2 separate regions of the Homo sapiens genome follow, and region 2 is linked to region 1. The links are contacts of gene promoters, found by promoter capture Hi-C in blood cells and fetal thymus (Javierre and others, 2016). All regions are on one chromosome and are shown on one strand. Each heading gives the region's core, a stretch centred on a gene start or on the middle of the fragment in contact. The rest is flanking DNA. Distances are from core to core; before and after follow the strand shown.

The links. Contacts are between HindIII fragments. The CHiCAGO score rates a contact against its expected background, and 5 or more counts as called.
Region 2: a contact is called between the fragment with the promoter of OGDH here and the fragment with the promoter of UBE2D4 in region 1, in 1 of 17 cell types (fetal thymus). The highest score is 5.4, in fetal thymus.

The regions. Positions count from the first base shown.
Region 1 is chr7:43,922,337-43,928,214 of GRCh38, forward strand. It overlaps UBE2D4 (ubiquitin conjugating enzyme E2 D4), which reads left to right and starts at 4,100. Exons shown (of 7, transcript NM_015983.4): 1 at 4,100-4,220. The coding sequence starts at 4,197. It also overlaps a transcript of URGCP not described here. RefSeq lists a silencer at 3,994-4,533. The HindIII fragment of the contact is 2,907 bases long and covers 2,821-5,727 here.
Region 2 is chr7:44,603,159-44,609,170 of GRCh38, forward strand. It overlaps OGDH (oxoglutarate dehydrogenase), which reads left to right and starts at 3,469. Exons shown (of 23, transcript NM_002541.4): 1 at 3,469-3,495. RefSeq lists enhancers at 3,029-3,628, 3,880-4,443, 4,119-4,458 and a silencer at 3,669-3,898. The HindIII fragment of the contact is 8,395 bases long and covers 1-4,115 here.

The DNA of each region.
Region 1 (5,878 bases), core at 2,850-5,349:
CAGGTGTGAGCCACCATACTTGGTATCACTTAACTTTCTGAGGAACTGCTAAACTCTTTTCCAAAAATGACTGCACCATTTTATAGTCGCACCAGAATGTGTGAGGGTTCCAACTTCTCCACATCTTTGTCAACACTTGTTGTCTGTCCCTTTAATTACAGCCATCCTAGAGGGTGTGAAGTGGTATCTCATTATGGCTTTGATTTGCATGTCCCTTATAACTCATGATTATTATTTTCTTGAGACAGGGTCTTGCTCTGTTTCCCAGGCTGGAATGCAGTAGCGTGAATGGGGCTCACAGCAACCTCAACCTCCTAGGCCCAAGCAATCATAGCTGGGACTACAGGCATGCGCCACCATGCTCTACTAATTCTTAAAATTTTTTCAAGTATCTGCTTTTGGTGAAGAAAAAAAATTTTTTTTCTTGTAGAGATGGGGTCTTGCCATGTTGCCCAAGCTGGTCCTGAACTCCTGGATTGGGTGATCCTCCCACCACAGTCACCCAAACTGCTGGGATTATAGATGTAAGCCACCACACCAGGCATTTTTTTTTCTTTCTCTTTCTTTCTTTCTTTCTCTTTCTTTCCGTCTTTCTTTCTTTCTTTCCTTCTCTCTTTCTCTCTCTTTCTCCTCTCTCTCTCTCTTACTTTCTTTCTTTCTTTTAGAAGGAGTCTCGCTCTGTTGCCCAGGCTGCTGGAGTGCAGTGGTACAATCTCGGCTCATTGCAACCTCTGTCTCCCAGGTTCAAGCGATTCTCCTGCTTCAGCCTCCCAACTGGCTGAGATTACAGGCATGCACCACCATGCCAAGCTGATTTTTGTATTTTTAGTAGAGATGGGGTTTCACCATATTGGCCAGGTTGGTCTCAAACTCCTGACCTCATGATCTGCCCTCTTTGGCCTCCCAAAGTGCTGGAATTACAGGTGTGAGCCACTGTGCCCAGCCTTTTTTTTTTTTTTTTTCCCAAAGAGACAGGGTCTTGCTCTGTCTCCTGGGCTGGAGTACAGTGGCTCAATCATAGCTCCCTGCAGCCTCAAATTCCTGGAATCAAGCAATAATCATACCTCAACCTCCCGAATAGCTGTGCCCTCAGATGCACACCACCACATCCAGCTAACTTTTAAATTTTTCTGTAGAATCAGGGGTTCGCTATGTTGCCCAATCTGGTCTCAAACTCCTGGCCTCGAGCAATCCTCCAACCTCAGCTTCCCAAAGTGTTGAGATTACAGGCCTGAGCCACCACACCCAGCCTGATTTTTTTAAAATGTGCTTATTGTCCAGTTGAGTATCTTCTTTGAAGAAATTTCTATTCACATCTTTTGCCCAGTTTTTAATTGGGTTATTTGTCTTTTTTATTGAGTTCTAAATGTTCTTAATATACTCTGCATCTTAGACTGTACTGAGATATTATTATTTCAAACATTTTCTCGCATTCTGTGTGTTGTCTTTTTGTTTTCTAGTTGGTATTGCTTGAAGCACAAAAGTTTTAAACTTTCATGTAGTCAAATTTATCCATTTAAAAATCTTTTGTGTATTATTATTATTTTTTTTTTGAGACACAGTCTCGCTGTTGCCCAGGTTGAAGGGCAGTGGTGCAATCTCAGCTCACTGCAATCTCTGCCTCCTGGGTTCAAACAATTATTGAGCCTGAGCCTCCCAAGTAGCTGGGACTACAGGTGCATGCCACCACACCTGGCTAAATTTTGTATTTTTTGTAGAGATGGGGTCTCACCATGTTGGCCAGGCTGAGCTCAAACTCCTGGCCTCAAGCAATCCACCTGCCTTGACCTCCCAAAGTGCTGCGATTACAGGCATAAGCCACTGCACCTGACCAATTGTGTATTATTCTTGCAACATTTCTGTACATCTAAAATTATTTCAATGTTAAAAATGAAACATTACATATAAGCATGCTAAAAAGTTTAGAAAACTATGCACTAAACTACCAACAGGGAATAGAAACAGAATTTTTCATTTTCTATTATATGTTTTTTTCCTGAATTATACAAATGATGCAAATTCTCTGTAGAAATTTTAGAGATTAACACATTAGTAAACCTACCATCCAAAAGTAATATTTTTGAGATTTGAGACTTCAAAACCACCATATACATTATTAGCACATAAATAACCATTTATATATTCTTACACAAATATATCAACATTTATAAAATCTAGAATCACTTGTTTTATGGGGAGGGAAGGCCATGTCAATAATGTAGGAGGATGGATGGCCCATGGACTAACAAAAATTTCTGTTGTCAATGTTTGACACCAAGGGGAAGTGCTTGACTTGGGCTGTTCAATGGGTGATGCTTGAGCTGGCTTTGGAAGGTGAATGCTCTAGTCAAGGAATGTAGATGCTGTGGTGATGGAAACACTTGATAGTCAGGTGGGCTGGAGGTAGGAAGGAGAAGGTAAAGCTGGAGGATACTTTGAGTTTTTGTTTTTTTGAGACAGGGTCTTGCTTTGTCTCCCAGCCTGGAGTGCAGTGGTGCCATCACAACTCACTGCAACTTTGATCTCCTGGGCTCAAGTAAGCCTCCCAAGTAGCTGGGACTACAGGTGCACACCACCATGCCCAGCTAAGTTTTGTATTTTTTGTAGAGACGGGGTTTCACCATGTTGCCCAGGATGGTCTAGAACTCCTGGACTAAGGGATCCACCCACCTCAACCTCCCAAAGTGCTGGGATTACAGGCATGAGTAACTGTGCCCGGCCGAGGATCCTGGATTTTGAAGGCCCCTGGATGACAGTGAATGTGATGCTGTAGGCCACGGGGCTTCCTTGAAGAGTTCTGGGTAAGGATGCAGTGTGGTAAGCTTTATATTTCAGACAGTTCATGAAGTTGTGTGGAGGACAGATTGGGGGAATGGGAGCGTGAAAGCCAGGGACAAAGCTGGGCAACTATTGAAATGTCTATAATACATTTTATATGCTGACTGAGTACAAACATAGAGGTGACCATGTGTCTTGGCTGGCTGGAGACAATTCTAGATTACAGCGTTGGTCCCAGAGTAATTATATTAACAGCCACTTTCATGCTCAAACATGTCTCAGTCTGAAGATTAAATATCATCTACATACACACACCAACAAAACTTCCACAATTCTTACCTTTACTATGTGAAATGCACTGATATTTTATTCTGTTTTTTTATTTTTATTTTTTATTATTTTTGAGACAGAGTCTCGCTCTGTCACCCAGGCTGGAGTGCAACAGTGTGATCTCAGCTCACTGCAACCTCTGCCTCCTGGGTTCAAGTGATTCTCGTGCCTCAGCCTCTCAAGTAGCTGGGATTACAGGCATACGTCACTACGCCCAGCTAATTTCTGTATTTTTAGTAGAGACGGAGTTTCAGCATGTTGGCCAGGCTGGTCTCGAACTCCTGACCTCAAGTGATCCGCCTGCCTCGGCCTCCCAAAGTGCTGGGATTATAGGCGTGAGCCACCTCGTCTGGCTTTTTTTTTTTTTTTTTCAAAAAAATGTTGGTTGCAACCTATTAAATTGATTTCGTGACACACTAGTTCATAACCCTCAGTTTGAACAACTCTGACCTAGACGCCTGCCAAGTCTTGGGAAAATAGGAAGGAGACAGATAATTAAGTTTGGGAGATGCATAGTCTAAGGCCAGGGTTCTCAATGTTGGCAGTGCAAGATCACGTGAGGTACGACTGAACACGGAGATCTCCAAAACTGCGGAGAGTTTTGCGTGTGAACGTATGCACAGACATCTACATGGAAATGGCTGTAACGCATCCAGCCATAAGGCGTACGAGGGTATATATACTTACAGAGTTAAGAACCACTATTCTCAGGAGTTATATGACAGCCTGGGAAGACGCCCAGGATGTAGGAACAGGGAGCAGGCGAGCGTGTGGCACCTTGAGGGTGCTCCGCGCGTCTCCGTAAAGCCAACGAGCCCCTCCTCTTCGCTGGCCTCTCCGGGGCCTTGCTGACTAGTGGTCGAAGCCACAGGACCAGGTGCGGGTGGCCAGCGTAACCCGGGCAGCCCCGCTGCTTCCCCTCGGCCGCGCCAGGACGCTCGGCACGCGGCGACGACGGCCCCACAGTGCCCCGCGCGCGCAAGCGCAGGCTGCGGCTCCCGGCGTGCAGCTTGGTGGCGGCTGAGCCGGCAGCGGGCCGCCTCAGGCAGCCCCGGCCGGGCCGCCCGGGTCCCCGGCAGCGGGGTAGGATGGCGCTAAAGCGGATCCAGAAGGTACGCACTTTCCCACCCTCCAACTCTTTGGGTGTCCGAAGCGTCGAGGTGTGGGCGGGGCGCCGCTGCCGTGAAGTGAAAGGTGACGGAGGCTCCGCGAGTCGCGGATACACCTGCCTGGGAAGGAGGCAGAACAGCCTCCCGCGCAGCCTGAAAAGCGAACGCAGCCTGAGAAAGGGATTGCGCGAGCGCGGGGCGGGGCCGGGCCGTGGCCACGAGGGCTGCGTCATGCGGGCGGGGCGCCGTGGGGCCACCTGCAGGCTTCTGGACAGCGGGTTCCCCCTGTAGGGTATCCAGAAGGGCTGGGTGGGTATCCAGAAGGGTATCCAGGAAGAAGCTGGGTCCTAAGGGATGAGTAGGAACTCGGCAGGTGGGGAAAAGGGGAAAAGGCTTTCCCTGCAACGGGGAGACTACGAGGCTTGGAGGACTGACAGGGTAGCGGGGAAGCTGAAGGGCAGATGGTGTGGACTTGGGTGGTCCTTAGGAGCAGTGCTGAAGTAACTGGTTTTTATCCTGCAGGTAAGAGGGAGTCCATGAGGGTTTAATGCATTCACTAGAATTTGGAAAACGCACAACAGTAGAAGAAAGAAGTATTTCTAATTCTATCACTTTACTATTTGTTAACATTTTAGCATACCTACCTTCAGTTTTTTTTCTATATTTAAAACAATTATACTGCATTTTGTATTCCACTTATTCACATAATAGTAAATGTAAGCATGTTGTGAAGTAGTATTTATAACTTTTTTTTTTTTTTTTTTTGAGGTCTTGCTCTGTCGCCCAGGCTGGAGTATCGCCCAGGCTGGAGTACAGTGGCACAATCATGGCTCACTGCAGCCTCAACCTTCTAGGTTCAAGTGATCCTCCCTCCTCAGCTTCCTGGGTAGCTGGGACTACATGCCACCATGCCAGCCAATTGTTTATTTTTTGTAGAGACAGTGTCTCGATATGTTGCCCAGGCTGGTCTCATACTCCTGGGCTTAAGCGGTCCTCTTGCCTCTGCCTCCTAAAGTGGCGGGATTACAACGTGAGACACCATGCCCAGTCCTATAACTAATTTTTAACATTAACTTTCCACAAGTACATGACTAGTAACTTATTTAGTCATTACCTGTAGTAGGTAAAAGTATGGACTTGGGTGTCAGACAGACCTGGGTTAGAGAATGTGAGGTCACTTATAGTGGGACCTTGGGCAAGGCACTTTATCATTCCTAGCCTCCCAGTCCTACATGTTTACAGAGTTGTTTTGAGAATTAAATGCTATGAAATGTGTTTAGCACATGCTTGCTGTATACCAAACACTCAATACGAGTTAGCTGCTGTTATTGTTCAAAATTCTTCACTAAGTATTTGCTGTTACGAACTGTGTATTAGTCTGTTTTGTGTTGCTATAAAGGAATATCTGAGGCTGGGTAATTAATAAAGAAAAGAGGTTTATTTGGCTCTCGGTTCTGCAGGCTGTACAAGAAGCATGGTGCCAGCATCTGCTTCTGGTGAGGCCTCAGGAAGCTTACAATCATGGCAGAAAGCAAAGGAGAAGCAGGCGTGTCACCTGGTAAGAGAGGGAGCAAGAGAGATGCCACCTCTTTTAAACACCCAGATCTCACATGAACTAATAGAGTGAGCACTCACTTATTATTGTGGGGGGGCCACCAAGC
Region 2 (6,012 bases), core at 2,219-4,718, 680 kb after region 1:
GCAAGATCCTGTCTCTACAAAAAACAGAAAAAATTAGCCTAGCCTGGTTGTGCATGCCCATTGTCCCAGCTACTCAGGAGCGTGAGCTGAGAGGATCACTTGAGCCCCGGAGGTTGAGGCTGCAGTGAGCTGTGATCACACTACTGCACTCCAACCTGACACCTTGTCTCAAAAACAAACAAACAAAAAAGGTGCGGTCACTGTGGGAATTTATCACTTCCTGAAAAAGCTAGACAGAATTCCCATATAACTCAGAAATTACACTCCCAGGTATACAGGCAAAAGAATTATAAACAGGTGTAACCACAGGACCAGTTGAATCTGATTCAGTTTTTTTTTTTTTTTTTTTTTTTGAGATGGAGTTTTGTTCTTCTTGCCCAGGTTGGAGTGCAAAGGAGCGGTTTTGGCTCACTGCAACCTCCGGCTCCCGAGTTCAAACGATTCTCCTGCCTCAGCCTCCCAAGTAGCTGGGATTACAGGCACCCACCACCAGCCTGGCTAATTTTTTTGTATTTTTAGTAGAGATGGGGGTTTCGCCCTGCTGGCCAGGCTGGTCTTGAACTCCTGACCTCGGGTGATCCACCCACCTCAGTCTCCCACAGTGCTGGGATTACAGGTGTGAGCCATTGTGCCCAGCCTGGTTCAACTTTTATCAGTAACAAAATGATGAGTTGTTTTTCAGTTACAATAGATCCCCAGGCTGCAAGTCACGTAACCTAAGTATGCCCAGATGAACAAAGTGTGCCTGATAGCTGACCCTGGTGTCGGTGGGAACACAAAAGTCAACCACAGGCAGGACTTAACCACTCAAATGGAGGAATGGACACCAAATTAGGAAGCATGGGGCGCCTTGTTTTGCTGCAATATGAACTTAAAAGCCAAAGATCCAGCATTGCCCCTTTGCATGACCCAAACAGATCACACCTTGTTGTATTTTCCCATCTCCCTCATAGTTGCCTTCTGCCTATAAAACCTGCCCCCAGATTCCATCTTGGGGAGACAAATTTGAGTATTGCCTCTGGTTTCCCTGCTGGTCGACCTTACGATAAAGCCTTTTCTCAAAAGGTGATGACATAGTATTGGCTTCTATGTGCATCTAGCAGTGAGCCCACTGCTTGGTACCACAATGGGCTCAAACATTTATAAGCCAATGTTCATTGCAACATTATTCAAAACAGCAAAAAAGCAGAAATAACCAAGTGTCCATCAATAGATGAATAAATAAACAAAATGTGGTATATACATACAATGGAATATTATTCAGCCATAAAAAGAAATGAAGTTCTGGCCAGGCATGGGGGCTCATGCCTGTAATCCCAGCACTTTGGGAGGTCGAGGTGGGTGGATCACTTGAGGTCAAGAGTTCAAGACCAGCCTGGCCAACATGGTGAAACCCCATCGCTACTAAAAATACAAAATAAGCTGGGCGTAGTGGCGGGCGCTTATAATCCCAGCTACTTGAGAGGCTGAGGCAGGAGAATTGCTTGAATCTACAAGGCAGAGGTTGCAGTGAGCCGAGATGACACCACTGCACTCCAGCCTGGGCAACAAGAACGAAACACCATCTCAAAAATAAAAAAAGAAAGAAAGAAAAAGAAAAAAATATTAGCCAGGCATGGTGGAGCGTGCCAGTAGTCCCAGCTACTTGGGAGGCTGAGGCATCAGAATCACTTGAACCTGGGTGGCAGAGATTGCAGTGAGCTGAGATGGCACCACTGCCCTCCAGCCTGAAACCGAGGGAGATCCTGTCTCAAAAAAAAAAAAAAGAAATGAAGTTCTGACCCATGCTACAACACAGATAAACCTTGACAACCTCATGCTCAATGAAATAAGGTGGACACAAAAGGACATATACATTATGATTTCACCCACATAAAGTAATTGAGTAATCAAATGTATAGAGACCGTATAATAGAGGTTACCAAAGGAGAGAAGGACAGGAGGAGAAGGGGAAATAGGAAGTTATTGCTTAATGGTTACAGAGTTGCTGTTTCAGGTGATGAAAAAGTTTTGGAAATTGAGTGGTGACGGTTGCATAATATTGTGAATGTAATTAATGCCACTGAGTTATACACCTAAAAATGGTTAAAATGGCATTAAAAAAAAAAAGACAGTATCTTGCTCTCTGGCCCAGGCTGGAGTGCAGTGGTACAATCATAGCTCACTGCAGCCTCAATCTCTCAGGCTCAAGAGATCCTCCTGCCTCAGCCTCCCAATTAGCTGAGACTACAGGTGAGTGCCACTACACCTGGCTAATTTTCTTGATTTTTTAGTAGAAATGAGATCTTGCTCTGTTCCCCAGGCTGATCTGGAACTCCTGAGCTCAAGCGATCCTCCCGCCTCCACCTCCCGAAGTGCTGGGATTACAAGCGTGAGCCACTGCACCCAGCTGCAAATGTTTAGTACATACATTTTTACCGTAATTTATTTAAAAAAAAAAAAGGAAAAAAGAATACAGAAGTTTGTTCCTTGGTCTCTTCACCTCTTCCAGTCTCTAGATCCTTGTCACATACATTACCCTAACTTTGTTCTATAATAAGCACTTATACGCCCCCTTTTTTTGTTTGTTTTTTGAGACGGATTTTCGCTCTTGTTGCCCAGGCTGGAGTGCAATGGCACGATCTCGGCACACCGCAACCTCCGTCTCCCGGGTTCTAGCGACTCTCCTGCCTCAGCCTCCCGAGTAGCTGGGATCGCCACCACGCCCAGCTAATTTTTGTATTTTTAGTAGAGACGGGGTTTCCCCATGTTGGTCAAGCTGGTCTCGAACTCCTGACCTCAAGTGATCCGCCCGCTTCGGCCTCCCAAAGTACTGGGATTACAGGCGTGAGCCACCGCGCCCGGCCTTTCCCCAAATTTTAATACTTTAAAATAGGGAACATCTTACAATCAACAGGTTGTGACAGGTTAATTAGCCACGTTTTATCTTTGATAGGTAGCTCTAAAGTCAAGAAAACCCAGGCAAGATCCCGGGCAAGATCCCAGCACTGCCAACTGTCATTTGTAGACCGGGGATAGGAACACCTGTCTCACAGATTGTTACACAATAGCGCCGGTGAAGCGCTTGTCACAAAGCCTGACCCAGGACAATCTCAAAAACGGAGATTCTGTTATTCAAATTGTTTATTTTTGTGCGCTAAGTTTCACATCAACCCAACTATCTCTTGATAGGTTCCTACCAGGCGCTAGAGATATCTTACTTTCAGAAATTATTTATGATAGCAGAAGCCGCTGGAAGTCCATAGACAACCTCATCTCTCTAGCGGAGCAAACAGCTGGGCTCCAGCTGGCCCTGGCTTCTGCAACTGCGCAGTCGGCGCTGTGACGCCCGGCGCGGCTCTGTGACGTCACGAATCGGTCCTCTGTAAGAGGGGAGGGCATTCTTCTCCAGGGGAGGGCTACGTGTTGACGCCATACGCCGGGGCGGGGCCGAGAGTTTGGAGCCCCGGAGTGGGGTGTCGGCGCCTCATTCGGGTGGAGCTGAGCCGGAGACAGGTAACCGTGCGCTGTCGCCGCGCCCGTCCCAGTGCCGGGTGTCGCGGCGCTTGGCGGCCCGGGGTTGGAGATCGCGGTAAAGGGGGAGGCCGCCGCGCCCTTGGTGCTGCGGGCGCCGCGGTGACAGGGGAGTGGAGCTGGATGGAGTGGGGCTCACGGAGGGTGGTAGGAGGGACGGGACCTGATGGATGGCCGTGGCAGCCAATGGAGCCGCGGGGCCTGCCCGGCGGGCGGAGATTGGCGGGTACGGGCGGGCTCCGAGGTCGCGCGGGGCGCGGAGCGACGCGCCATTGGCGGTGGGCGAGCGGGGGGCGGGCGCGGCGGCGGATGTGAGGGAGAGGGCGGTGCGTCCGCAGGGGTGACCCCCAAGGTCGCCGCGGGCGTCACGTGGTTAGGCCGCTCTCCGACGGCGTCCTTCCCGACCGGGACGCACTCTCCTTCCCGCCTGTGAGGACCGCGTCGCTTTGTCCGAAAGACAGTGTGGCCTGCTCGAGTTGCGTCGGAGCATCTGGCTTTGGGGTGGCCCTGGGTGGGACTGCCTGTTTGGATTACCGCGCAGACCTTGGCGCCGCCCCCACACCTGCTGCCAGAAGTTGGGTCGAACAGATTGACCGAGATGAAGCTTATTTCTCGTAGAAACATCTTTCAAGCACCATTTTCCCTCGAAAATATATCAGACATTGGATATGAGTTGTAATCTACTGAGATTTAATAGAAAACTTGCCGCGCCCTCGCCCTGACCTGGGTGCGTCCCACCTGCCATCCCCATCCCTTTGCCCAGAACATAGGACTTCGTGTTAGGGTTTCCTTGTGCCTTGTCTTGCAGTCCGTACTTTGAGGCTGATTTCCAGGTACACTGCTCTGAACAGCTGGGTTTAGGATGGGTGGCATGGGATAAAGCCTTTTTTTGTAAGGCAGCACTAGTTGCAACAGTCAAACTGTACTTTGCCGTGTAGACCTAGGAGAGTATGTAACACTATTGTAGTTTTGTAAATTAGCTGAGGACTGGATCTTGGGAAGTTGAATAAAGATCACTGTATGCTCATTTTTTGTTGTTGTTGTCTTGTTTGAGATGGAGTCTCTGTCGCCCAGGCTGGAGTGCTGTGGCGCGATCTCGGCTCACTGCAACCTCTGCCTTCCTGGGTTCAAGTGATTCTCCTGCCTCAGCCTCCCAAGTAGCTGATATTACAGGCACGCGCCATCACGCCCGGCTAATTTTTGTATTTTTAGTAGAGACGGGTTTTCACCACCTTGGCCAGGCTATTCTCGAACTCCTGACCTCAGGTGATCCGCCCGCCTCGGCCCCCAAAGTGCTGGGATTACAGGCGTGAGCCACTGCGCCCGGCCCCTCATTATTTTTTTTAAGCGCACTTTTCACATTTCAGTTACTTTTTCCCTTTAAATAACATCTTTATTGAGATAAAATTCACATACCATACGATTCACCCATTTGACGTGCACAATTTCGGCCAGTCGTGGTGGCTCACGTTTGTAATCCCCACACTTTGGGAGTGTGAAAGGAAGATCCCTTGAGCTCAGTTCAAGGAGACCAGCCTGAGCAACCAAAGTGATACCCGGCGTCTACAAAAAATAAAATTATCCGGATATGGTGGCATATACCACATATACTTGTAGTCGCAACTACTCAGGAGGCTGAGGCGGGAGGATGGCATGAGCCAGGGAGGTCCAAGCTGCAGTGAGCCATTATTGCCCCACTGCACTCTAGCCTGGGTGACACAGTGAGATCCTGTCTCAAAAAAAAAGGCCGGGCGCAGTGGCTCACGCCTGTAATCCTAGCACTTTGGGAGGCCGAGGTGGGTGGATCCCCTGAGGTTGGGAGTTTGAGACCAGCCTGGCCAACATGGTGAAACCCTGTCTCTACTAAAAATACAAAAGTTAGCAGGGCATGGTGGCGTGGGCCTGTAGTCTCAGCTACAGGCTGAGCTCCTCCAGCCTCAGCAGGAGGCTGAGGCAGGAGAATCGCTTGAACGCAGGAGGCAGAGGTTGCAGCGAGTCGAGATGGCGCCACGGCACTACAGCCTGAGCGACAGAGCAAGACTCCATCTCAAAAAAAAAAGGAAAGAAAAAACTACAGTATCATCTACTTTTTAGATTTTTAGGTAATTTTTGAGATCATTGTACAAATTATTGAGAAATTCATTTTGAAAACAGTAAAATTTTAAGAAATTGTACATAAAAATTTATTCTATGCAGTCATAATAAATAGTACAGAGAGATCCTGTGTTCCTTTCCCACTTCTCTAACATTGTGCAAAACTATAGTAAATATCACAGCCAGATATTGACATTAATAAAATTCAAGATACAGAATATTCCCGTCATCACAAGGATCCCTTCCATTGCTTTTTTATAGCCACACCCACATTCCTCCCATTCCCAGTCCTTCAACTCCTGGTAACCACTAATCTGTTCTTCATTTCCCTAATTTTGGCATGTCAAGAATGCCAAATAAAAGGATTCATAGAGCCTTTTGGGATTGGTTTTTTCCAGTCAGCTT